Linked DNA regions of Homo sapiens: all the other regions are linked to region 4. The links are contacts of gene promoters, found by promoter capture Hi-C in blood cells and fetal thymus (Javierre and others, 2016). All regions are on one chromosome and are shown on one strand. Each heading gives the region's core, a stretch centred on a gene start or on the middle of the fragment in contact. The rest is flanking DNA. Distances are from core to core; before and after follow the strand shown.

The links. Contacts are between HindIII fragments. The CHiCAGO score rates a contact against its expected background, and 5 or more counts as called.
Region 1: a contact is called between a fragment that was not itself captured here and the fragment with the promoter of PLCL1 in region 4, in 1 of 17 cell types (fetal thymus). The highest score is 6.0, in fetal thymus.
Region 2: a fragment that was not itself captured here is called in contact with the fragment with the promoter of PLCL1 in region 4 in 15 of 17 cell types (M2 macrophages, monocytes, naive CD8 T cells and 12 more); the score reaches 69.5 in M2 macrophages.
Region 3: a fragment that was not itself captured here is called in contact with the fragment with the promoter of PLCL1 in region 4 in 15 of 17 cell types (M1 macrophages, M0 macrophages, fetal thymus and 12 more); the score reaches 15.4 in M1 macrophages.
Region 5: a fragment that was not itself captured here is called in contact with the fragment with the promoter of PLCL1 in region 4 in 11 of 17 cell types (activated CD4 T cells, naive CD4 T cells, non-activated CD4 T cells and 8 more); the score reaches 13.4 in activated CD4 T cells.
Region 6: a contact is called between a fragment that was not itself captured here and the fragment with the promoter of PLCL1 in region 4, in 7 of 17 cell types (M1 macrophages, M0 macrophages, M2 macrophages and 4 more). The highest score is 13.0, in M1 macrophages.

The regions. Positions count from the first base shown.
Region 1 is chr2:197,495,219-197,498,988 of GRCh38, reverse strand. HSPD1 (heat shock protein family D (Hsp60) member 1) reads left to right here. Exons shown (of 12, transcript NM_002156.5): 2 at 139-314; 3 at 1,597-1,849; 4 at 3,613-3,695. The coding sequence starts at 141. Among named protein-coding and RNA genes, the nearest start is that of HSPD1, 2.7 kb to the left of the region's middle. The HindIII fragment of the contact is 1,520 bases long and covers 491-2,010 here.
Region 2 is chr2:198,127,569-198,131,843 of GRCh38, reverse strand. The region is part of intron 5 of PLCL1 (phospholipase C like 1 (inactive)); the gene reads right to left. Among named protein-coding and RNA genes, the nearest start is that of LINC01923, 250 kb to the left of the region's middle. The HindIII fragment of the contact is 3,910 bases long and covers 145-4,054 here.
Region 3 is chr2:198,145,727-198,150,399 of GRCh38, reverse strand. PLCL1 (phospholipase C like 1 (inactive)) reads right to left here. Exons shown (of 6, transcript NM_006226.4): 6 at 537-3,620. The coding sequence ends at 3,438. Among named protein-coding and RNA genes, the nearest start is that of LINC01923, 230 kb to the left of the region's middle. The HindIII fragment of the contact is 2,501 bases long and covers 2,169-4,669 here.
Region 4 is chr2:197,802,382-197,806,896 of GRCh38, reverse strand. It overlaps PLCL1 (phospholipase C like 1 (inactive)), which reads right to left and starts at 2,304. Exons shown (of 6, transcript NM_006226.4): 1 at 1,558-2,304. The coding sequence starts at 1,797. It overlaps LOC105373828 (a long non-coding RNA gene), which reads left to right and starts at 2,351. Exons shown (of 4, transcript XR_001739850.3): 1 at 2,351-3,188. RefSeq lists a silencer at 2,128-2,257. The HindIII fragment of the contact is 1,428 bases long and covers 1,284-2,711 here.
Region 5 is chr2:198,073,690-198,078,362 of GRCh38, reverse strand. The region is part of intron 1 of PLCL1 (phospholipase C like 1 (inactive)); the gene reads right to left. Among named protein-coding and RNA genes, the nearest start is that of PLCL1, 270 kb to the right of the region's middle. The HindIII fragment of the contact is 1,314 bases long and covers 939-2,252 here.
Region 6 is chr2:198,167,005-198,171,490 of GRCh38, reverse strand. No RefSeq gene overlaps it. Among named protein-coding and RNA genes, the nearest start is that of LINC01923, 210 kb to the left of the region's middle. The HindIII fragment of the contact is 3,138 bases long and covers 1,211-4,348 here.

The DNA of each region.
Region 1 (3,770 bases), core at 1-2,500, 310 kb after region 4:
TCATTCAGGCGTAGTGGCTGGCGGAGGTCAGCCAGGCTCAGCATCTCACGTTGCTTGCTCTGTTGCACAGGTGGGCATGTTTGTTCTGCAGCGCACCACGGGTGGTAGTTCTGATGATCTTTTTGCTTCCATCCCCAGAAATGCTTCGGTTACCCACAGTCTTTCGCCAGATGAGACCGGTGTCCAGGGTACTGGCTCCTCATCTCACTCGGGCTTATGCCAAAGATGTAAAATTTGGTGCAGATGCCCGAGCCTTAATGCTTCAAGGTGTAGACCTTTTAGCCGATGCTGTGGCCGTTACAATGGGGCCAAAGGTACCAGTATTTTTATTTTATTGTAATTACGGTATTATTAATAGCATTTTACTCACAAATAGTCGCACTGAACTATTCAACAGTACTTTCATCTCCATTTTTGAGAGAACTCAGTTTACATGTAAGAATTCTGAAGTATTGGTTAGCCTTTTTTTCTTAGACATGATCTTAAAGCTTAAACTGCTTCAGCCAGATTTTCGAAACTATTTTGTTCAATGTGTGATGTAATCAGGTAGTAACTTACAGCTCAAGGTGGATTCTTAAACTCGAGGTAGAATTTCGCTGGCTTAAGTTAAAATTTGGATCCTTTCCCAGTAGTTCATGCCAAGTGTAGAGAGAAGAGTTTAACTTATCTTCCATAATTCCTTAGGTATGTGCTTGTAGATGCTAAATTTTTTTTTGGTTTATTGTAGTAAAATGTACACAACATAAAATTACCATTAAGTGTGCACTTTGGGGACATCAATTACATTTATGTTGTGCAGTCATCACCACCATCCATCTCCAAAACTTTTTATATGGAAAAATTGTAACTTTGTACTCATTAGACAGTAGCTTCCCATTCTCTCCTCCACCCCAAGATGCTAGTTTTACCCATCGGTTTTCTGCTGTTCTCTTGTTCCAAAGCATATTTAAAATAAGTCTCATTTAATAGGGGTAATGTTTTGAGGAGGCCTTTGAAGGTGGTGTGCAGTCAAGTGGTGCTTCATTTCAGTTTGAAGACAGTTCAGATATCAAGTGATCCAACAACTGCCTAAAATACAACATTTGCACACCTCACAAATAGAAAGTAGCAGCTTTAGTTCAAATCCAAAGGATGGCCAATAATTGTGCCATGGTTGAAGTTTTATGTTGCGTGAACCTGGAAGAGCACGCTACTTGCCTTGATGGTTAATATTTTAGTTAAACGGATTTTAAAACAAGTCACATTACTTTAAAAGATAACAGGCACTAACTAAAGTATAAGTGATAGGAAGATTGTTTTATTCTTTGTCTTGTGTTCTTGTTCATTTTATAAGATGACAAGTTTTAGTCCCTAGGATTTTAATCTCCTAAATTACCTAGTTCAAAATTATGCTCTTGGCAGAGAATCAGGTCATTTTGTCTGTAGACAAAGAATGTCGATAAACTTGCCCTTGAGGTTCATGCTGCAAGACTGATAAAAATGACACAACTTACGTTGAGACTTTGAAGTAGTTGCTTTATTATGAAGACTGCTCATTTTTAAAAATGTAAATCATCCTTAGGGTATGTCTGATCCTGTTACATTTTTTTCTTCTAGGGAAGAACAGTGATTATTGAGCAGAGTTGGGGAAGTCCCAAAGTAACAAAAGATGGTGTGACTGTTGCAAAGTCAATTGACTTAAAAGATAAATACAAAAACATTGGAGCTAAACTTGTTCAAGATGTTGCCAATAACACAAATGAAGAAGCTGGGGATGGCACTACCACTGCTACTGTACTGGCACGCTCTATAGCCAAGGAAGGCTTCGAGAAGATTAGCAAAGGTGCTAATCCAGTGGAAATCAGGAGAGGTAGGAATGTCTGTTGTCACCACAGTGTTCTAAACTTCAGTGTGCTTTAAGGCATTGATTCCTTGGACCTAAGGAAAGTGTTAACTTGAGGAAATTAATCCTTCTCTCATTCCTCCTCTTGGCCTGGAGAAATCTTAAACTGGGTTTTCCTTTAGCAAGCTTGGCTGTATGGTGGGTAGGTACTGTTAGGTAATTTTGATATTTTACTTAGTTGGTTTCTTTTGTTTTTAGAGACAGGGTCTTGCTCTGTAGCCCAGGCTGGACTGCACTGGAACTCCTGGGCTCAAGCAATCCTCCTGCCTCAGCCTCCAAGTAGCTGGGACTACTACAGGCACTCACCACCATTCCTGGCTAATTTTTAGTTTAGTTTTGTAGAAAGTAAGACTAAATACACTGGATCATTCAGAATGTCAGAAAGTAATGTTTTCCTCAGTTTATTTTTTCTTAATAGCACACACCATGTTATTGGTTTGTGTTTTGTTAGTGCTTGTAACTAGAGTGCAACTTAATTAACAATTTGCTCCTCCTCATGAGGTTCATGGCAGTATAGACTTAAATTCTAGTCCCATGTTTGTCATTTATTAGCTGTGTGCTAAGACTTGGTTTTCCTATCAGCAGAATTGCTATGTATATCTAGGGTATGTTAGGGTTCAAACCAGGAACCCTCTTGTAAGTGAAGGTGGGGGGAGCTATTGGTAATTTTTTGTCAGAATTGGCATACTAATTTATTACTACATTACTAATGTATCATTACCTCATCTATTTCAGTGTTTATGGGCCAAGTGAATATACTTCACTAAAAGCAGTTTTACTGTAAATCACTAACAAGTATTAATTAAGGTTATGAAGAGGACTTACCAGCACCTTGCATTGGATTTTTTTTGAAGTAACAGTTCTCAAACAAGAGAGCTAGCACTATTCCCAATTGAGCAAAATGGGACTATTAAGACTGATGTAAAACAAAAATATTTTGTTAGTTCATAATACGTACTAAATTGAGGGGATTTCAGATAATTGACACCTGCAGAGGCATAGTCACAACAGATTCCTATCATTTAAGAACTGTACTTCTTGTTGAAAATAAGGGAGTGTTAGCCATTTTGGTCCTTTTTTGCATCATCTAATGGACATGAGAAGTGTCGTGGACCCTATTGGAAACAGCATGATTGGGTTAGGAATTTGCATAGGATGAGTTCAGTGGTGAGACTTTTGAAACTACACACATCTACCTTGTTTTAGTCCTATTTTCAAAATTTTGGCATTGTGAGATTTTATTTACTGTGTGAACCTAAAGTTACTGTTTAAGTACATGCCACGCAACTCTGTGTTATTAAGAAGCACTGTCTCAGAAGCTGTGTGTAAATTTAATATTAAGGCACTAAAGACCAAGCATAGGTACATGCCTGTAGTCCCAGCTACATGGGAAGCTGAGGTGGGAGGATTGCTTGAGCCCAGGAGTTCAAGACCACCTTGGGCAACATAGTGAGACCTTGTCTACAAAAATAAAAGAAGCTGAGCATGGTGGCTTGAGCCTGTGGTCTCAGCTACTCCCTTGAGCCCAGGATGTCAGGGCTGCAGTGAGCCATGATCTGTGCTACTGCACTCTAGCCTGGGCAGCAGAACAAGACCCTGTCTCAAAAAAAAAAAAAATTTTTTTTTTTAAGTTAAGGCATTAAAATATTTGTCACAAATCTCAAGATTTCTACTTGACATAGAAGCCATGAGAGAAATAAACATTGTAATGACATATATCGTTGAACTAGGTGTGATGTTAGCTGTTGATGCTGTAATTGCTGAACTTAAAAAGCAGTCTAAACCTGTGACCACCCCTGAAGAAATTGCACAGGTAAGGACTTAACATGTTACACGTTTTTTAAAAAAAATTTAATGGCATGTGTGATTTTTTTTTTCCCTTGATCAC
Region 2 (4,275 bases), core at 850-3,349, 330 kb before region 4:
CTCACTTCAAGAAGCCTGAATGAGTCCCGTTTTATTTTAAATGAGAAATGACAGGCTTGCTACAATTTTAACCACACCATTTGATTGCTTGATAACCAAGGCAAAATAGAGTTTAAACCATGTCCTGGCTAAGGCTTTCAAGCTTCTTGCAGAGAAAACCAGAATCAGTCAAAAGGATAGAAAGAATAGGGGTTATGGCTGATGTCTGCAGTGGGAAGAATGATTAATAAGTTATGAATTGACTTTGTGACTTTGGAAATGTCCCTAACTCCTGTGGGCAGCAGTTTCCTTTTCTCCAAAACATGGGGATTTGACGAGACGTTCTTTGATTTGACCTCATATGCTAAATGTCTACTGTTTATTAATTGGGGCTCAGGTTAAAATTGCTATGTTAAAATTCATCACCTAATTGCTTACAATAATAGAGACTGTCTCGTGAAAGATAAAAAAGCAATTAAAGTGCTATGATAGTGGAATAGCAGAGTTCTGTGGGAATACGTACAGGGATACCTAACTCTGTTGAAGATGGGAGGCAGGAGAAGGTGAGGTGTCCATGAAGGCATCCTGAAGACTCCGTACCTGAGCAAACACCTGAAGTACAGATAACAGTGCCCCATGCAGTGTGAAAACAACAGGATGGGGGCTCCCAGGGAGCAGGGGTACAAGCAGGGTTACACACTTTCAAGGAAGAAGGGACAGTCCATGTGACTACTCAGCATGAAAGCATCCCTGGTGCCACTGAGGAAGTGGAGAAAGTTCCATGTGGCTGGAGTAGTGCATGGAAGAAGAAGGCAATGAGAGACGAAGCTGGAGGGGAAGGAGGGGAGCTGAGAAGACAGGCCACAATGAGTTTCAGAAGAGAAGTTAAGAAGGAGCTGTGGGAAGCCCTGGAAGGGCTTTAGGAAGGGAGAATGGCCATGACCAGCTTTACATTCAAAAAGATCACTCCAGCTCTATGCTATGGAGTGGGAAAAGGATAGAGGAGAAATGACTTTTCACTAACTCAGGTGATAAATGAAGATAACTAAGGTGACGGCTATGGGAATGGAAGTTTCCTAGGGAGGTATTAAGGAGGTTGACCCAACGGTGCTTGCTAACCAATTAGAGGTGGAGAGTTAAGAAAAGGATCAAGGATAACCCCCAGGATTTAGGTTTGGATAACTCTGAGTTGTCATTTATTCATTCAAGCAGGAATTCCAGAGGTGTCACTGAGGATAAGCAGGACATATGGATAGGGATAAGCACAGCTGGAGACATGCCGACCTTGCTGTGGCTGAGTGACCTCCCAGGTACAATGCCTGGGAGGTAATTTGATATATAAACTATATGGGAGGATGAGCAGGGATCATCAAGAGATAAAGAGAGTGACACCTGGGCCAAAAATACACACTTGAGATTTGACAGCATGGTGAAGATAATCAAAACCCTTTGCATGAACTGTGTCCCCCAGGGACAGAAGGTGGAGTGAGAAGATAGCCTAAGCTAGAACCCTAAGAAATACCAGCATTTAACAGAATAGCAGAGGAAAGGGAACCTGCAAACGATTCTGGGAAGAAAGAGTCAGAGATGTAGGAAGAAGAGAGAAGGGGGTGGTGTCCCAGAAATCAAGAGAAGCAGTGTTGCAAGAAGTGGGGAGTCAGCCTGGGAAATATCACAATATTCTATCTCTACAAAACATAAAATTAGCAGGGTGTGGTGGCATGTGCATGTAGTCCCAGCTACTTGGGAGGCTGAAGCAGGAGGATTGCTTGAGCCCAGCAGGTTGAGGCTGCAGTGAGCCATGATCATGCCACCACAGTCCAGCCTGGGTGACAGAGCAAGACCCTGTCTCAAAAAAATTAAAAAAAATAAAAAGTAGGGAGTGCTTAGCCACGTAGAATGTTCCCAACTAGTCAAAAAAGATAAAAACTGGAAAAGTGTCCATGAGATTTTGTGACAAGGTGGTTATTGGTGACCTTGGTGAGAATGATTTAATGGAGTGTCGGGGAAGAAGAAAGATTAAAGTTGGCTAAGAAGTGAGTGGGAGGTAAGGAAGTGGATTCGGCAAGTATAAACAACCCTGTTAAGAAGTTTGACTATGTAGGCGAGGAGATAGAAAGAGGAAGGAGATGAGCTGAAGGAGGGCTGAAAGTCCTTTAGAAAAGCCCGTTTGTATACATATTGTTGATGAAAAAAGCAAGCCAAATTCTGTAAAATATTTGAAGAGATTTATTCTGAGCCAAATGTGAGGACCATGACCTGTGACACAGCCTCAGGAGGTCCTGAGAACATGTGGCCAAGGAGGTTGGGTTACAGTTTGATATTTTAAATTTTAGGAGGACATAAGACATCAATCATGGTTTGGTAGGGAAAGGCAGAACAACTCGAAGCAGGAGACTTACAGGTCATAGGTGGATTCAAAGATTTTTCTGATTGGCAATTGGTTGAAGGGTTTAAGTTATTATCTAAAAAACCTGGAATCAATAGAAAGGAGTGTCTGGGCAAAGATAAGGGGTGTTGTTGGAGACCAACGGTCTTATTATGTAGATGAAGTCTTATAGGTGGCCATCCTTAGAGGCAATAGATGGCAAATGCTTCCTATTCATACCTTTAAAAGGTACCAGACTCTCAGCTAAACTCTTCAGGATCAGAAAAAGACCTGGAAAGGGAAGGGGCTTCTCTAAAGGAGGTAAATTTCCCCCACAAGAGATAGCTTTGCAGGGCCATTTAAAAATATGTCAAAGAAATATATTTTGGGGTAAAATACTTGATTTTTCTCAGGGCCTGCTATCTGTCATGTGATGCTATACTGGAGTCAGGTTGGAATTTGGTATCTTATTGCTACAAAGAGCCTACTGTGTCTTAAGATCTCTGTTTTAATTTTAAGGCCGATCAGTTCAGCCTGAATTCCAAAGGGAGGAAAGTATAATGCAGCGTATCCAATTCCCTTTTACCATTGAAACTGCCTTTGCAAAATTATGACTGAGACAGTGAAAGAGATCCAACTTAAATGACTCCATCTTGCCTCTAACCTCCAAGCTGGGCATAGGCTGAACTAACTTTGGGAAGAACTTATAGTTTATGGTTTAAAACAAGAACAATAACATCCCTTTCCTAAAATAAACCTCCTTCTTGACTACTAACAGTAGCCACAAGATTAGAAATTATGGTTTAGGAGTCATGCAGCTGGAGGCTACAAGATTCTGACCCTCCCTAAACTGCTCCTAAGATCAGTACTTGAGAAGTTTTGCAGACCCTGCACTTGACGGATCAACTGGCACCACCATATCAAGAAATTGGCCCATCTGATCCTGTGATGCCCACCCAGGAACGGACTAAGCGCAAGAAGACAGTAACGCCCCATGATTTCCTCTCCATAATTTCATCTCCGACCCAGCCAATCAGCAGTCCCTGACTCACTGCCCCTCCCCTCCCACAAATTGTCTTTAAAAACTCTGATCCTGGGGAGACAGATTGGAGCAATAATAAAACTCCAGATTCCCGCACAGCTGGCTCTGTGCGAATTATTCTTTCTCTATTGCGATTCCCCTGTCTAGATGAATCAGCTCTTTCTAGGTAGCATGAAAGGTGAACCCAACTGGGTGGTTACACCATCAGGTTCCCATCATGGCCTGAACTAGCTTTTTGGAATTTTTTGGAATCCCCTTGTCCCCATAGGACAGGTCCATTCAGTCGGTTAAGGGGCTTAGAATTTTATTTTTGGTTTACAATATAAATGCAGTTAGGCTGAACTACGAATGAAAGGAAAAAGACAAAATACAAAATGGAATGACTAAAAGCCTCTACTTCTAGTACTGATCGTTGTTCAAATTTGTGTTTCATAGCATCCTAATTTTTTTCTCCTTATTTTAGAGCCGCTTTATTTGTGTGAAGTGAGAAATTTACTCAGCAAAATAAAAAGTACATAAATTTATATGTAAGTAAATCTACCTAAACTTAAAAGTAAAAAAGCAGGGATGACTACCTCCAGAAAATGAAGATTTTTCACACTGTCCAGCAGGTGGCTCCCCTGCTTTGGACTTAGGTAGGGAGTGCCTGCTGTCCACAAAAAGCTTGTGCTCCAATGATCAGAAATGGCTTCTAAAACCATGTGGTTTATTCCTCTGCTTCCATGTAGATTTGCACCTAAGTCATTCTAAGCATATAAAAATGACCTCAAATAGATTTTGAAAACTTACCACATCATCAAAAAACATTGGTGTATCCCCAACCTGTGTAAATAGGCATTTAAATTAGAAGTAAACACTATGTACACACATTTTCAGATGGAAACTA
Region 3 (4,673 bases), core at 2,170-4,669, 340 kb before region 4:
AATCTAGCAATAGGAGATTGGTTAAATATATTCTGGTAAGCCATATAATAAGATACTGTATAATTATTATAAATGACCATTAATTTTTTTTTATTTTTTAAAGACAAGGTCTTACTATGTTTCCCAGGCTAGTCTCAATTCCCAGCCTCAAGCAATTCTCTCATTTTGGCCTCTCAATAAATGATAATTTTCATCAAGTTTCACCACCTATCATGTCCTTAAGGTCCAGATGTAACATAAATGAATGAAAAGGCTCTCTAGAAAATTGGACAGCATATGCCCCTTTTGGAGAGGGCAGTTTCAATTAACTGATGCCAAGCAAGAAAGTATATGTGTGGTGGTTGTGAGGTGGGGAGTGGGAGGTGTTCTGTGTTGTTAGATTATCCAGTATTTTAAAACATGCAGGACATTGAATTGTACGTAACATTTTCTGAATTTCAAAAGCTGTCTATTGCTTAAAGATTTTTTTAAAAAATGTTCAATGGCCAAATAAAACACATCATTTTTGGACTAGATTCAGTTCAAATGCTTGGAACTCTAATGTAAATACACATTTATTGACACAGAAAGATATCCATAACATATTGTTAAAATTTTAAACACCCTGCTACAAACAGTTTATATAATATCTCAATTTTGTTAAAATACAAGCATATTTACATATATGTATAAACTCTAAACAGTGTCTAAAGGGATATAAATCAAAATGTTATTAGTGGGTAATTTTGCTTTTCTGTTGTATATAGTTCTCTATTTTTGTATTTTTATATTGACCATTAATATTTTATATTCAGAAAATAAATGATACAGTTCTTTGTATCTGTGGTTATAAAGGTAAGAGTTAATAGTCTGGTTTAAAATGTTAAGAATAAACTTAAAATCAAAATCACTAAGTATATAATCTTGCACATGAAATCAGACAGACCCAAGTTCAAAATCAATTATTCCATTAATTACCTCAGTGGCTTTGGGCTTTCTCACCTGTAAAATGCCAGTGATAATACCCGCCATCTCCACCTCAGATCCTATTGGTGATGTAAAAATGAATAAATAAAAATAGAATTAATATCTAAAACACTACATTCCTAGCATCACCAAATCTAAGTAGATAGAAGAGAGAAGGGGGCTTTTTCTACCACAGTTCAAGTCTAGAAAGGAGACAGATGCTCCTCATAGAATGTAACAATGTCATGGAGGCATAATACACAAAAAAAAATTGTTTGTTTTTGCTATTCTATCTGGAGGCAGGAACATCACAGGAGACTAGGAGACTTTTCCCTTGCCACCTCCACTCCCAGAATCCAAAGCTCCTCCCTGCTCCACATCTCACTCCCCATCTAGCAAGGACACCCAGTGGAATGAAGCAGAGTATGGCTGACAACCCACTGCCAGAAATAGCATCAGATGAGGCAGAATCCATATTACGTTTTTGAGAATTTTTGGGTGGGTCCTAAGTGTGAGTAGAGCTCTGGGACAAATAAAATAAACTAGAGAAGCTACTTCCAAGGATTGGATTTGACCCTGGAGTAAATAAATGTATAAATATTGTTTGAGAGTTTGTCATCCTTTATCTCCTCTTCCCACCTAACTGTATATCCAGTAAAGACATGGATTTACCAAATAGAATTCAAGTAGATGAAGAGGTACACTAGTAAAATCAACCAATCAGCTGATGTAAGGTGGGTTTTGTTTCTGTCTATAGAACCTCTTTTTCACCACAAAGGGCTTAACACCTGCATTCCACTATTCCTCCTACCAGCAAGTTAAATATAACAGAGGGTAAAGAAATTTTTTCAGGCCATTGTAGCATCATTGGAAACTTGCCTTCAAATGACTTCAGGTACCTCCTCCTCGAGTGCCCAGTTTTAAACCCAGGGAATAATTTCATCATATCTGGTCCATGGAAATAGCAAACTCTTTAAGATATTTTTGATGTAGTAACCCATTTTCATTAGCTTTGCTTTTTCAATTCACAATAAAAGAAAACAATAAGTGTTTTTTTCATATCTTTACTCTTTCAGTAATGTGCAACATAAACATAATAGTGTTAAGAAGTCAGAAATAACACAGAAGCTATAGGAGATGTTTATATTTGCAAAATTTCAACAATTATCTTCTCTAGGTTTCCCCAAATTAGCATATTTGTTAATCAAATTAATTAAGAAGCTTTTCAAAATAAAAGCAATGCTTTAAATAAATATATTCTTTCATAACCATAGAACATTTAGTTCTGTTGGAGGTAACAAACATTACACTCAAGTACTTTATGAAGACATTAGGGTAAAAATTACCTAGATGCAATTATAAATGTACCCTAATTAGTCATTTCTTTTTGCATGTATGCTTTTCTGTGTGTGTTAGGGTTATATCATAGATGTGTGGTAACTGGTTAGCTCTTAAATTATCACAAAGATATTATCGGACCCACAGAATTTATATCAGCTCAATGTGATGATATGATATTGTTTGAACAATATCTTTAAATTTAAATTTAGTACCCTAAATTACATCCAAACAAAGCCAACACCTCTAAGCTGCCATATCTGTTATAGAAAATGAGTGCTAGACTCTCAGCTTGGAAGAATGAGACCTTCCTACAAATCTCGAAATTATACAACAATATTATTGTCACATCAAAATCCTAATTGCAACAGAGCTTTCAGTGTGTTTCAGAGTACCACACAGGTAGGTATAAATTCACTTATGATCAGCTTTTCTAGTGAAATCATATGTTTAGTAAATGACTACAGAAAACTTCCTAAAAATTGATTTTATTTAATAAATATTTTTTAAAGTTTTCTGACTGAAGAAATGACCTTGCTAATCTTTTTAGAAATTCTCATCATCTGTTTAATCTTTCATTCACTTTTATTTCTACTCTGATTCTTAGGAATTTTTCTAATCTATATTTAATCTACCAAAACATCTATGCTTTGATAAATTTGGCTTCCTTCAATAATAAGCTATGCTAAGATCACTAAATTAAATGTCAAAGGCAGAGAAGTCAAATTAAACACAGCAACAGGTTACAGTAAGTGCTCTTTAGAATTTCAGATTAAAACAATTGTCCCAAAATGATCAAGGAATAACTCACTAAATGAATAATGCAACACAGAATAGATTTTAACAGAATTTCTCTCTCTCTCTCTCTTTCTCTCTCTCTGCCACACACACACACACACACACACACACACACTCTTCCACAGGCATCCACACAGGGGTGTTGACACATGTCTCAGAATTTAAAACACTGATACTAAAGGCTTTAATTTAGATAAATTAACTACACTGAAATACTGACATTGTGAAAATATCTATGTCCAATACCCCATATAGGGCACCATTTTGTGAACTTATAAAACATTTAAAGAAAGAAAACAAGAATGAGAAACCAGAGTCCTTGATAAGATGGGTGAACGTGTCGATAATGCCCAGAGTCACAGCTTCCCATTCTCCTCACTACTTTCCTTCTCCTCTATGGCTTCCAGGCTGCGCTTGCTCTTGGCCTCAGCACTGCTGCTGGGGGCTTTACTCAGTCCACAGGACAGGCATGCCAGCTGGATCTGCTTCATGTTTTCTATAGCTTCATTCTTGGCATTCTTCAACAGATCTCCTTGGCCCTACAAACAGAAAAAAACAGGCATCAAAGAAGACAGTTATGGGCCAGGCATGTGCTGAGTGACATCACTCTATGTTCTTACTGCCCATTGCTGAATAAGGAAACAGACCCAGACCTGCAAGCTCACTTTTCCAGGGTTTAACCCAAGGTTCTTTTCTAACATTATTAAGTGACTTTGCTTGTTAAGCCAAGTACCTCAACCTGAGCCTGACCAGCTGGCTATGCAATTGCTGGCAGTCCGTTGAGATTCCTATTGTGAGGAATCCTCCTCTTTATGTGCTGAGGACATCAACTCTTCCATCACCATGGTCTGAGACTCTGCACACTGCTGCAATACCTACCCCGCCCAGATCCAGCATTCCTAGTCTTGGGAGAAAACAAGGAAAGAAGCTCTTCCTTAAAGAAGTGAAAATAAAATCTCCCCCTCTGTACAAGAGCTTACAAAGCAAAGTGTCTTCTGTAAAGTAAGTCACATACCCTTATGCTTGGTGAGCTGGTTTTTAATATACTGGGTCATCCTTGCAATCTGCCTGTTGTTAAATTATCAGTCACCCACATTACTTCTGCCTTTTCCATCATCCTGAAGATGATGTTCCCACCTGGCAGATGGAGAAAAAGAGTCTCCAGAGGCAAAACAAAAAGGAAATGAGGATTGCAGGAACACATTAGCTGTCATTTACATCAGTGCCCAACAGAGATCTTTTCCTGCTATTTTTATTTCTTATTTTAGTTCACTGTTATGAAGATAAAGTGCGTATACTGATACTGGCCCAAGGGCTGAATGACTGAGTGTGGGGAAGCAGGGACAGGTGTCTATGGCCCATAGACAGAGGAAGAAGTAGCTTCTTCCCTCTCCTCTCCATTCTCATGGCAGTGCCTGAAAGTGTGACCTTGAAAGGACAATATGGGTGGATATGGGGTTATGACGATTGCTGGAGCATTATTCTACAAAGCAGAGGCTCAGAGAAAGGATAATTTACCTATTTTATGAAAGGCCAGTAAATGCTTTTTCCTTAGGGTGTATGAAGAAACTTGTATTTTACAAAAGCTTGGA
Region 4 (4,515 bases), core at 1,055-3,554:
GCAAGAATTTGTATATTCCTTATACTCCATTACTTTTGTTTTTTACAACATTATAGAGCCGTTTGCTCTTTATTGTCATATATTTTAAAGTCTCTTGCAGTGCCTGTTTTACACACACAGGACACCATGTAGTATCAATACAGTAGAATCCAAAATGTATGTGTTTCCTAATTGTGATGTTTTTTAAGTTTGAAAACAGTGTGCTTTCTGACCTGTGGGTTAAAAACAAAATAGTAATTTCCCTTTGTCCAAATTCACACCCAGAATAGAACACTCCTGTTACATAATCAAAAAGCCACAAAATAACAGAAACTACTACAAGCCATTTGTAATTACCACCCACTCTTCTTTATATATTATAGAAACCTCTCCACTGATTTTAAACTTCCATGTGTCAGTGTTGGGAAAAAGACTTTACTGGAGCCACATTCTGTGGTTAGTCTACCTAAGCTGGTGCTGGGAGCTTGCAACATGCGTGATGCACTGGTTACGCAGCTTAACCCTGAACAGAGCTTTTGAATATATTAGTGAACCCAATAAATTCAATAGTAAGTAAAAGTCCATCTTTCATTGTCATTGAGGGATGTGTGTGTGTGTATGTACACACACACATATATACTTACATATATACATACATACATATCGTTTTATACTGACTGCTCCACCAAAATCAATTTTAATCTGACATACATTTGATTGATTACTCACATGCATTTACACTGAGGCCCTTTTCCAGAGCCTGTGCGAGGGTTCTTTCCTAAATAACCTTACCCCAAAGTCATGCTCCCAAAAGAGGAAATCTCGAACAGAAGAAACAAGCCCCAAGTGGAAGGAAGATGGAAAGAGAAAGGGGAGGAAAGAGGTTTACAAATTCCTTGCCAAATGGATGGAGAGAAATTCTGTGAGGTGATTAGCGGGTCAGGAAGCGTTTTCCCTGGATGTGGTGGTAACCACAAGGACCAGTGATAATGCTTGGGGGATTGATTGCTTTCCGGTTGTGCTTTCTGCAGCGCAAAAACTCTGGGCTCTTGCATTGCTCTTTACTGTGATGCAGGGTCCACTTAAAACTCTGCCTCCCTACCGGGAAAGTTCACACATCTTGGGATTTCGGGATCATTTAAGTCTAGAGGGATTCTTTTTTTACACTTGAGAGTAAGCTGTGCATTTTCTTCATTGTATGGGAAAAGCTAACCCTTCATTGGAAAGCAATGCACAACCATCCGGTGGGTCTGCATTTATCCAGAGTTCTCCCTTCCTCCCTCCATCAACGGTTTAGTGAAGCTTGCAGAGAAAATGAGGGAAAGCATCCATCAGAACGCAAAGACGCAGAGCGGAACTTTTCCTCTGCCGTCAGTGGGGAGAAAAAGTCACTTGTGCGTCTCGTGGCTGACAGCTGAGTCTGGGAACCTCCGGATAAGGAAGGAAGGTTTGGCGTTGAAGGAGGTGGGAGAAAACAATGCTGAGCCCGGATGCCTCCGGACACCGCACATCCTGCCCGGGTCCCTGACCCACCCATCACCCACAGCCACGCTCCCGGTGCGGCGCGGCTTTGCTTACCTTGATGATGCTGCTGCGCCGGGGGGTCGCCCGTGCTGCCTCCAGGAGGCCCGCCTCGCTGTCCGCTGGGGTCCCCGCGGCGCCTGGCAGTGCGACCCCGCTGCGACGGTCCCTCATCCGGCCCCCAGAGGCCGCCGTCACGCAGTCCCCGGCGGCATCCGGGCCCACTCGGGGGTCGTCTTCGCCCCCCGCCGCGTCGGGCGGCGCCGGATCCTCCCTGCCGGCCGCGCCCTCGGCCATGGCCTGGAGCGTTTAGGGCTCCCCGGGGGAAAGCGGGACGCCCGGCAGCGGAGTCCAGCCGCTAGGCACCGGTGCGCTCCTGCACCGGGAGGCGGCCCCGCCAGACTTTGTTTCACCGCCCAGCGGCGGCAGTGGCGGCGGCGGCGGCGGCGGCGGCAACTTTCTGGAGAGGGGACATCGCTCGGGCAGAGACGTCCTCGGGCTTCGGTCTAGGAGGCTAGCAGTCCGGCGGGGGACGGTGGCGGGAGTGGGGAGGCGATGTGAGCGGGAGGCAGAAGGAGAGGCGAAAAAGAGAGGGAGGTATCCGAAATGTGATGCAAACGCCGGCCCTGCGCCAGACAAAAGGCACCGGGCGCCCAGCCAGGCGGCCTCTGGAGCCCGGACGCCGGCGGCCCGATAGGGGCCAGAGCCGGGCGACTGCGGCCGGGCGCACCCGCCACCTGCCCGCGGACTGCGGCGCAGCGGTCCCAGGAAGTGCGGCGGCGGCGGCGGCCTCCACTCAGCTCTGTTGTGACAGGGAGGGAGACTTGTTTTGACAGCCCTTGGGGATTGGCAGGCGTCTGGGCCTCTTAGGAGCCTCGCCTCGCCGAGGGGGCTCGGCCCGACCAATCCTCACTGCGGAGGGGTGTGCCCGAGCGCGAAGAATGGAATGTGTTCTGCAACTGGGAGCCGGCCCAGCGGGGCTAATGTACTCGAGCCAGGGTGTACCCGCGCGCGCGCGTGTGCAAACCCGGAGGCGCTCCGTGTATATTTTAGGAAGTTTAGATTTGCGAAATGAGCCTGAGATGCAACAAAAATCCAGGTTGGGTGAAGGAGAGGGGAGAAAGAAACCTTCTTCTGCCAAACAAAGCAATTTGGAGGAAAGTGGGTATTGAGTATGAATGTCTAAGCGTTTGGGGTGACGGGGTGAAGCTTTGCGTGGTCACAGGTTAATTGCAGGCTCTCAGGCCAATTCTTAGAAGTCAAGTCCATGCAGAGATAAACTAGGGTTTACTGGGATCTTGGGGTTCCATAATTTGCTTCAGGTTCCAGGAAAGGATTCTAAGGTCATTCTGCAGTGTGAGTAAATATAACAAGGAAAGGGAGTCAGTGAAAGAGATGAGGGTGAAAGGAAACTGAACCAACTAAATCCCTCCGAAGACTGACTCTTAAAAAGCACAGATATAATCCAAGTCAGATAAATGCAGGTGGGGAGTTTAGTCTCTATCCTAAAACATTCCTATTTGACAATGGTTCAGCCTCCTTTCTCTATATAATCCTATATAAAAACATATTTTGCTCATTTCCAGTAAGCTAGCAACCAAGAAGGGAGAGATCTTTGGATGATGAGTTAAGTCACTGAAATTATCCACAGAATGCTCAGATGCAAACCATGGTCCTAAGGCTCCCTGGTAAGACAAAAGACTTGGCATTTTAATTTTAAACTCCTTTGATATTAGAATCTATATTAAACCTCACTTATAACATTACATTTTATCTTATTAATAATTTAATAATTTGAGATTTTACTTGTTCCTTAGTCTGGCTAACAGCATGAGAAATTATTCAGCATTTTAGACCAACAATTTGGTTTGAATCTCATAATTTTAGAGATATATGGGGATTTAGGGATCAACTAGGACATCATTTTTGTTTTACGGTTGAGACAAAGGCCCAGGGAGTCTTGTCTACTAGTTAGTGCAGGAGCCAAAATTAGAATCAGCCACCCAACTCCTCCGATAATCTCTTCACTACTTTATCTGTCTCCTCTGGGCTACAACCAGCCAGAACTGGCAGGGGCACTTGGGAGGTTTCAGATTTGACATTTATCAACTACTAGGGAATACTGAGAAGGCTTGACTTTGCCTTTTCTTTAAACATAAATGCAGCCTAGTAATGAATGTACTGTAGAGAGTAGCAGTGACCTCTGGTTTTAGAACCAACACCACCCTCTAGTGAGATTCTGAGAACTGCATCCATAACAGCAAAGGCTTCTTTTTCCCCCTCATCTTTAAAAGACAGGAGGGGTAACCCAACAAAAGTTTCCTTTTCAACAGGTATGCCTTTACAACGCACAGACTAGAGGAAGAAAATAAAGTGTACCCAGACTTAAAACAACCATACATGTCTTCCATCTCCTTTAGTTCAGGGAATTCCTGTCTATGCTATATAGGAAATATTTTTAATTGCTATCCTCAGAAATATATCTTATTTTAGGCTATCATTTTTTTCTTTGATATTCAACTATTATTACATTTGACTTCTGTCATTTACAGTTGTCAGTGCTTCATTTTTCTTTGTTACTCTAATAAAAGTCCCATTCTTCGGTTGTCCTCTGAAAAATGTAAAACTGCCTTTATCTCACTCATTATCTTGTTATAGGATATTAATGTCATTTATAAGTTCCTCATCCTACAGATTTGTGTACCATTATGATAATAATTTATTTTTACAAATTTTAAAATTAGCATCACTTTATTAACAAACATTCAAGGTCAGTGATTTAAAAAAAAACAGAGGCCAGAAAGTACAGCATATAACTTGCAAAATGTTGTATCTTTCAACTAGACAATGTCTAGTTGGACTCTTTTCTCTTCCTTGGCATCCTTCCCTCTCACCCTCATGTGAAAGTGCACACACACACACACACACACCCCTCTGATTCCTTTGCTCTGAGCCTCTATCCGTAAAGATTGTTGTCTAAATTACTCTGCTTTGATAAACTAGTTGGACCCTAAT
Region 5 (4,673 bases), core at 346-2,845, 270 kb before region 4:
GATACATGACATTCTCAAAGGATGGTAGACAATATACAATCTAGAATCCAGATAACTCCAACCTTGGATACTGAGAAGCCTCTGGTCTTATTCTTCATTTATTCATTTGACAAACAAGAATAGGTACCTACTCTGTGACAAAGTCTAGCACATTACAGAGTTTGGAGGAAACTGATAAGGTTTCATTTTTATCTTAGATATATCACTCTGCATATGTGCTAAAGGGATTTGATACGGACAAAACTGAAGATGGTACATTAGATGACTATTTCATTCAGCATTACAATAAAGAGATAGTGATGGCCTGAGCTAGATTCCTAATAAAAAGGATGAAGGTATTAGGTAGATTAGGAAGGTATCCTAATAAAAAGGATTCCTAATAAAAAGGATGAAGGGATTAGGTAGGTTCCTAATAAAAAGGATGAAGAAGAGTGGGAAATATCAAGAAACATGAGGTAAAACAACTTCTTGACTGAGTAAAGGATGACTTCTAGGTTTTTGGTTTGAGTGAGAAGTGAGTGGAAATATTACTAAATGAGGTATGAAATATCAGGGGAAGTGAAGTTGAAGTGGAAACTAAGTTTACTTTGGGCCATGGTGGATTTTACATGACTATGGGCCATCTAGGTGAAGTTGCCCAATGGAAAGTTGGATATATGAGTCAAACCTCCAGGGAGAAGTCTGGGCTGCAGTTTCAGTGTTGGAAGTTATACCCGTAAAGGGATAAATAGAACCTTGAGCATAGTACAGTCACCTATTAAATAAAAGCAGTTAGAGATGAGCTAAACCCAGAGGAACACCAGTATTTAGAGGCTGGGCAGGAGAGAAGACCTAAAAGAAAAGAAGAGCTGAGGGGTAAGAAAACCAGGAGAATGAGCTTCCACAGAAGCCAAGACTAAAAGGAAAGCGTGTTGGAAATTAAGATCTGAAGATAAGCTTACTGAATTCAGCAGTTAAGCAGTTACTGCTAACTTGGGCAAGAGAATGTCTTATGTTCCTTTTTTTTTAAATTATTATTATTTTTTATTATTATACTTTAAGTTTTAGGGTACATGTGCACAACGTGCAGGTTTGTTACATATGTATACATGTGCCATGATGGTGTTCCTTTTAAGATGCCTAGGATAGAGAACGAAATGAGACCCAAACTGCTGCCATGACAAGACTGAGAGTAAAGGGTTCCAGGGAAGGAACAAAAGTCCTTCAGTGGGAAAGACAGCCAGGATGGCTACTACCATATACTAAGTGAGATAAAGTGGCCCCAAATGAGACCGAATAACAGGCAGAGGCAGAGAGTAATAAATCCAGGAGAGGGCTATCCTCAAAAATGTTGGCTCCACTAACCTGGATTGTGATCACAGAATGGAATTCAGTTCTGATGCATACATTTTGCCTTTCCAATGGGCCTATGCTCAAAATCACATCCATGTTTGGCAGTTAAGTGTTCTGGAGAAAACCCTTACCCATACACAAGGCCTAACAGTTCACACAAAATTCAAGATGGTGGGAGAGATGGGATCATCACTGTATCTGTTGCCTTCAAGTTTCAGAAAAGGGAAGTCTGCAACTATAGAATTATACCATTAATTTCACGTTAAATTTTCCCAAGTTTTATTCCCATGGTCAACTCCAGTTACTTAATGCAGAGACACAAACAGGTGATGCACTTATTTATGGTTAATACCATGTGACTTACCCAGGGTCACTGTGATGCAGTGGGAGTGGAGGTCCTAATGGCCACTATTGAGAAGTAGCTGAAGCATAACCCAAGTAAACCACTGGCCTTCCCTAGTGGGTCCCTTATTGGTAAGGATCTGAACAGTTATTTTATGATCAATAAAAAAAGCATTTATTGTCTACACCATCTTCTAAGTCAACAGAATTAATTAAAGGCAATGCTAAGTGTATGCATGCAAGTTTCTCTAGCCAAATTAAGTTCTATGTCTGAATTTACCATTAAATTTTATTTATAAAAGGTGATTCATTTAATAAAACGCACTAAAGCCATCTCCTTTAGGAAACCCACACTGATATATACGCTGTGGTGGGGATGGGATACTAATTAAAATATGGGCAGCCAGTGACCCTCTAAATTTTACACATCTTCTCTGAAATGACTCTCTTCACTTGGAAGCAAAAATAATTGATGTTCTACAGGCAAAGCTAGTGATAGAGTGCTGAGAAAAAAAAAAGAGTCCATTTCAGAGTGGGTAGTTAGTACCATTGATTTGTTTTTGTAAACAGAAGAAGCTTCCACTGTGCTGTACCTCACTGCAATCATTTGCTCATTAGAACTCATTAAGAAGGGACAATCTAAATAAAAGTGATTATCTCAAGCTCTTCTTCTGTATAGTTTCCATCCAGTTAGGGTTTTTCTGCAAGAATGATTCTTATTATACACATCCAATGGATTATTTCAAATACAACTTCCATTTACACAAAGATTGACTGAGCCCCTACTCTGGGCTATGCATTGTACAAGTGATTTGTTCTTTAAAAAATCATTAATCCCAACACTAATGTTGTCCGGAATAAATTTTAATGTATGAATGTTTGTAGCTAATTAAATCAGTAAATAAGAACAAAGATCATCAAATTTAATAATTAGAGCAAAATGTATAAAGAATGTTTCTAAATAAACAATAAAAACAGCTTTAAATAACATTAAAGATGTTCATGAGCCAAGCCCACAAGGGAGCATAAAAGGCTGATGAGGCCTATTAAACAGAAGTACTACGTCCTTTGTAGTGTCAGCTGCTTTCATGTAAAGGCCTTGTCTCTTATTTTAATCTTGTCATTCTCCTCTTGTATCCTTCCCAGTCCACTGCTTCGTACGCAGTTATGAGATACGTGAACTTCCATTTCTCTAGTCAACAACATGGTCCTTTTCACTAATCCCACTGCTGCATGCAATGCGTAGTTTTGTTAATACTGTGCTTTAGCTGCGTCAATTTGAACAAAATGAGGGTGACAACAATAAAGGTCATCTGACGATTTATTCAGCAGCCTCTGAGGAACGACTTGCGGCTATCAGTCCTGTCCCTCTAAGACAGATGTCTGCCTCATCCTCAAAAACAATACATTTAAAATTAATAGGTAGCCTGCGCAACTCTTAGCAGAAGTGCCAAGAACCAAGTGGGCTTGGAGACCGAGATACGATTCTGTCCTTCCTCAGGAGACCCCTGCACAGCAGGGCCCAGGAATCCTGGCGGAGCTTATGCCAGCACTGACTGTTGTTTCTGGTGTGAGGATTAATTCGATGTTCTCTTGATGGAAAACAGGATGTCATGTCCCTTTAAAAGGAAAGTCAATGATGAAGTCTAGCTAAATGTATACCTTTAATACCTACATGGCTAATACTTCTCTTTCAATGTATTGTTATAAAGATTAAATGTAATGCTCCAATTATTTCACAGGTATAAACATATAACTTGATGCTTAATTAGGGCATTCATCAGAAAATTATATGTAATTAGGTAGGCCTTCAAATAGACGCATACTTTTATATTTTATTCTAATTAATGTTGCACATTTACTTAAAATACTTTATCTGAAAAATTAAAATATCAACGGGAATAAGACATTATTAAATAGAGTTCATGTCACGAACATTCCTGACAAAATTTCCCACCTCTCTTTGTGTCCTATGTAGTGAGTTCACAGAATCGTTTTTCCTTCCTTGCGACTTTTCAGGGGTTTTTTTGTTTGTTTGTTGTTTGTTTTTGAGACGGAGTCTCGCTCTGTCGCTCAGGCTGGAGTGCAGTGGCTCGATCTCGGCTCACTGCAAGCTCCGCCTCCCAGGTTCACACCATTCTCGACTTTTCAGTTTTTAATGGTAATATTTACCCCCAACTATGACACACCAATATATTATTTTCATTGATTTTAGTCACTTTGGAGTCCAAATATATTCTTTAATCATCTAAATTTGAATTAAGCATATTTAAAACTGAAAAGGAAATACCCAATGTGCTTCAATATTATGTGAGTTTTGCCATTTATTATCATAGAGTGTTATTGGAGCTAAGTTTTAGAACAGATGTGATTTATAAAAATAAGAAAATCATTTACAGTTATACCAGCTTAAGTGGAAATAAGAGACATAATTAGCCTTTCTTCAGAGCATAAATTTTCATTAATGAGATAGTTTGAAAAATAGTCAATTTCCAGGAATTTATGGTTTTCTATGCAATATTTGGTAAGGACAAAACTCCAGGTTATATGCATCACTTACAAATTCAACTCAATGACATAAAATATATAACGACTAGTGGTATTTCTTAGAAATGAAATCAGTTCTATTGTACTGTACAGTAATATATACATGTAGGTTTTTCATTACAAAAAATATTCTGTAGAAGATTTAAAAACAGTGAATTTACTTTTTAAAAACATTTTATAAATGTATGTCACTTGGGACAAGGAGACTAAATTTCAATTTCAATTTTTAAAAAACCTAATTCTATTCAAACTTAAGAAATAATACATTAATAGTCTAAACTGATCTTTCTCTAGATTTGGAGAAGTCTATTCTACCATTTAATAAATTGGTGTATATATCAACAAATGGACTCCTTCTTGCATTTGTATTAAGTCTGTATTGTAAAACTGACATTTAAATTATTTTAAACTGCCTAATTGAATCTTTCTTTTGCAACAAACCCCTTAAAGCA
Region 6 (4,486 bases), core at 1,530-4,029, 360 kb before region 4:
TTAAGAATCAATGTCTTGATTTTCAGCCATCTTACTTTCCTCCCAATACAAGATTCAACCTGGCTTCAGATACTAACAACATCTACAAGGTTAAATATATTCTTCTTATTTTAACTTTAAGGCAAAATTAATTTGTGTTTTAGTAATGTTTTAAATGTGGAAATACCAAATATCGAAATACTGAGGTTATGAAATTTATACATGAAGTTAGAGACTTACAACACATAACACATTTCTTAAATTAACCAGAATATTTTTGGATGAAGAAAGCTGTACTTACACCATATCCTATGTAACTCAAACTAAGTTTTGGTTTCCAGAAAGAAATTCATACCAAATTAATGTAACCACTGCTATATATATACTATTGTGACCATGACATTATCTGTTCCAATCACTAGGTCACCTCTTACTCCCAAACAAATTCTTGGAGAGGGGTCACAATGGAAGACAGTCTGAGAAAGGTATTTGTGAGCAGGTGAGATGTTCCCTGAGGACTCTCAACCCATAACTGGGTGAGGTTTTCATCTAAGTGGGACTGCAAGTCCTATGTCAGCTATGAGGGTTAGAGGGATAAAAATATGGATTATTTTGTTTAACGTGACCTGCATGTATATTCATAAGCTGTGGAGCTGAAGAAACATCCTGACACCTGTACTACTTCCTGACATCTATAGATATTCCCATAGACAAAAACGCAAAGAAACAAAATACTGATATAGTACCTCTGGCCCTGAATATTCAACACTGAGAGTCTTCTAAGGTTTCTCAACAGAAGATTTCCAAAGTGAATTGGGTCAAATCCTTTCAATGTCACTTTCCCTGGGTGTATTTTAATTAGGAATAAAATGTATTCACCACCAGCTCTGAATCCTAATACGGTAATTAAATGCACCAGTGGAAAAACCTGTACTGTTTGAACTAACACCATTATCTTAAACTGTTTCATTTGATTTAGTCTCAGTCTCTACAAGGATCTTAAAACAGGATGCCATTATAGGCAAATAGGAACACGTGCACAAATGAATAGGCACAAGGAAAGCCACAGGGTATAGTCCAAGTAGAGAATTATAAGGGGGCGGGAAGGCCAAGAAAGACGCCTTGGGAAACATGGTAGACATAGTGAGGTTAGGGTGTTTCCTTAGCTACAAGTGACTTTTAAGGTCCTGTATTTGCTTTACTTGCAAATAATGAAATAAAAGAACAAGCTTTTCTGGAAAAAAAAATGTATTCTTAAGTTATGGCTTTTCTTTCTAAAATCTCTTGAAAGCAAAACTTTGGTTTAACTTGAATAAGCAAGAGGTTTTGAGGAGGAAGAATCATGGTTTACACACACACTTCTCTTCAAGTAGAGTGGAGAAAGATCACTGGACCCAGGCACAACTGGTACACATTCAAGCCCTACAAGACCACCCATAAGCTGCTGAAACTCTCTAGAAAACATACTTCAATGGGTTACCTAAACTTGATTGACAACAGGTGAAATTCTACCTCGTATACTCTATAAGTTTCGGCGGGCATTAAATTCTGTGTAAGACTCAGTGTTTCCAATTAACCAAGGCAATTTCACCTTCTCCACCTCCATCACCTCCCAGAAAACACCTGTCTGTATAAAGCAGCTCCTCCTGGGAATAGTCACAGATTTCTTCCCACCCACCAACACCTTTGAATGCTTGCTACATTCCAGGGAACAAGGGACATCACTTCCCCTCCATGTGCCCCAGATCCATCCTTTGTGGAAAGAACCTTCTGCAAATGTACAGTGTGATATCCCCAGGGTACCTTGACACTGGTTTTGGTTCTCTTTGCCTGGTCAAAGTCTTTGCCCATTTCCTTCATGGATTATTTATTTTTATTAGGAACTCTTGTCATTAGCTGACAAGCTAGCTGGTATTCCCATAAGCCTTTTTAGCTCCTCTGGTAGGAGATAAGGTTACCTCACACTCCAAGTTGTCAACTCCTCCAGATCAGAGTCCATGGCTTTTTCTCTGTGCCCCCAAATTTTGTTTAATGCTTGTAAAAAAAAAAAAAGCAAATACTGTACCCAGTAATTCCTGTTAAACCAACAAGCATAGATAGGAAGACAAGCCTTCTTATGCCACTCTACATGAGTGACTAATTGCCTTGAGAGCAAAAGGTTTCCACAGTTTTGTAATCCTTCAGAAGATCTCCTAAGAATGTCCTGTAGAACCTACCTGGGTTTTTCCAGGGCTCCCAGAAAGGCTGACTCTCAGTTACCTGTTCTCACCCCTTTTTTCCATTCTGTACAAATCTCACAAGAGAGAAGCACTGCTTTCCTCACTGAGGAGTGACTAGTAGATCCAAATTTCAACTGCAGAGTATAGAGGGTTCAATAGTGTCCCCCCCCACCCAAATTCATGGCCACCTGGAACCTCAGACTATGACCTTATTTGGGAATAGAGTCTTTGCAGGTGTAATTAGTTTAGAATCTCTAGATGAGATATCCATCCCAGATTATGATGGGCCCTAAATCCAATGACAAGTGTCTCCATAAAAGAAATAATACAGAGGTTTTCAGCAGAAACATAGAAGAGCTGCAAAGAAGGCTACATGAAGACAAAAGCAGAGACTAGAGTGAGTCAGCTACAAGCCAAGGAATGCCAGGATTGCAGGGAGACTTGATTTCAAACTTCTGGCCTCCAGAACTGCAAGAGAATGTGTTAAGTCACCCTATTTGGGGTACTTTGTACAGCAGCCTTAGGAAAGAAATGCATAGAGAAACAGTCAACCTTAATATGCCCAAACCTGTCCTTCACTTTCTGCCATCCCCTTTTACCTAATCTCAGGTTCTGAGAATATAATCTGATAGACGTTGATGAAGACAGTGGGGAATAGTAAAATATCAGCTTCAGAATCAGATTGTATGCCACAAATGTGACTGTGCCATTGAGTTACACGATGTGTGCTTCTTTTTCTGGCAAAAAGTAGTACATTCCTCTCAGAATGAGATGATTCTGAGAATTTAGTGAGATGATATGGATAAGGATACCTTGAAAGTTTTAAAATAACCTAGTGTATCTTGATTAAAACTGGAACGTAGGCCCATATGTCAGAGTGATATGATGCAAAAAGAAACATTTACCAAGTTAAATGTTAATAATCTCTAAGGTGATTAAGCTAATCAGTCTTGGTCACACATTGGAATTACCTGGAGATCTTTCTAAACCTATATAAGTCCCACCCCAAACTATCCTCTGTGAGTGGGGGAGGCATTGCTAATTTTTTTCATAGTCTCCCTTGTGTAGCCTTCCAAATTTGTTTTCATTTCACCAGACACGCTTCTTTTAATAGATCATATCTACTGATGTCACCAATAATTTCCTCTCCTCATGTCCCATCATAGAAAAATGGGACAAAAGAATGAGGGCTCAGATGCAGAAAAACAGTCATACCCTGGTGACCCTTGCTAATATCCCTAACAGCACAGACACTTGGTGACAAGACACCACTGAATACAGCTTTTATCTCCATGGCAAATTTCACAGTTAAGATGGCTGAAAATAAACCCTTCTGCTTTAGTGCTTGAGCATGCACAGTGGCTGTTTATTATTCTATGATGTCTACTGTTTTGCTGTTGATGGTGTGCATGTATGTATGTGCGTGCACGTGTGTATGTGTGTGTGTTCCAGTTAGCAATGCCTAATTTGATATTTTCTATCTATCCCCATTCTTTTAGCTTATTCCAGTGCCTAGCCGTACAAAAACTTCCAATAATGCAGCATAGCAAAGCCCTTTAAACATAATCCATATTTTGCTTCCTTAGTGAAGAGGCATTGATTATCTTCCCATCTCAAGCGTGTATAACAAATAAGTCATTTCTGCAGTCACGGTGCATCATAATGCATCCCAAAATAAATATTATTAAAGCAGATAGCTTTGAATCTCAAATATAGAGCAAACCTTAAGAAAAGCTGGCAGTGTCCTTGGTGATAGAGTTGCCTGTTGCCATGGGAATGAGTCCAAAGATTCTGTGACATTTCCAGGGACCACATAAGCTAAGTGGAAAGGACTCCTTTTAGACATCAACCCTGTGCTCATATATTTACCTGGTAAAATTCTAGAGAAGGAAAAACTCAAGATGAAAGGAATATATAAGTAGTCTCTATGTGACTCAGGCATTACAAAATTTCTATCTGAATGTTCTTTTAAGTTGTTATATAAACTGTGAAAAAGCAAAATGAGAGAAAATAACAACAGACTGCCTAAATTGTAATCCCATTAAACCTTGAAGTATAATGTATGGGATAACAATATTCTCACTGAAAATACCAGTAGACTTCTCATTTTCATGTCTCTAACTCTTCCCCAAGACAAGCAGTACTAAGCTTTGCAATTCACACAATCATGAGGCCTGTAGGTACAAGTGTAGCCACTCCATTGCCTACCTTCATGCACATTTTGTCTTAATCTGGGTTTCAAATAAGCATACTAAGGATTAAGCTGACTGGTTTTGCTGCCACAGACA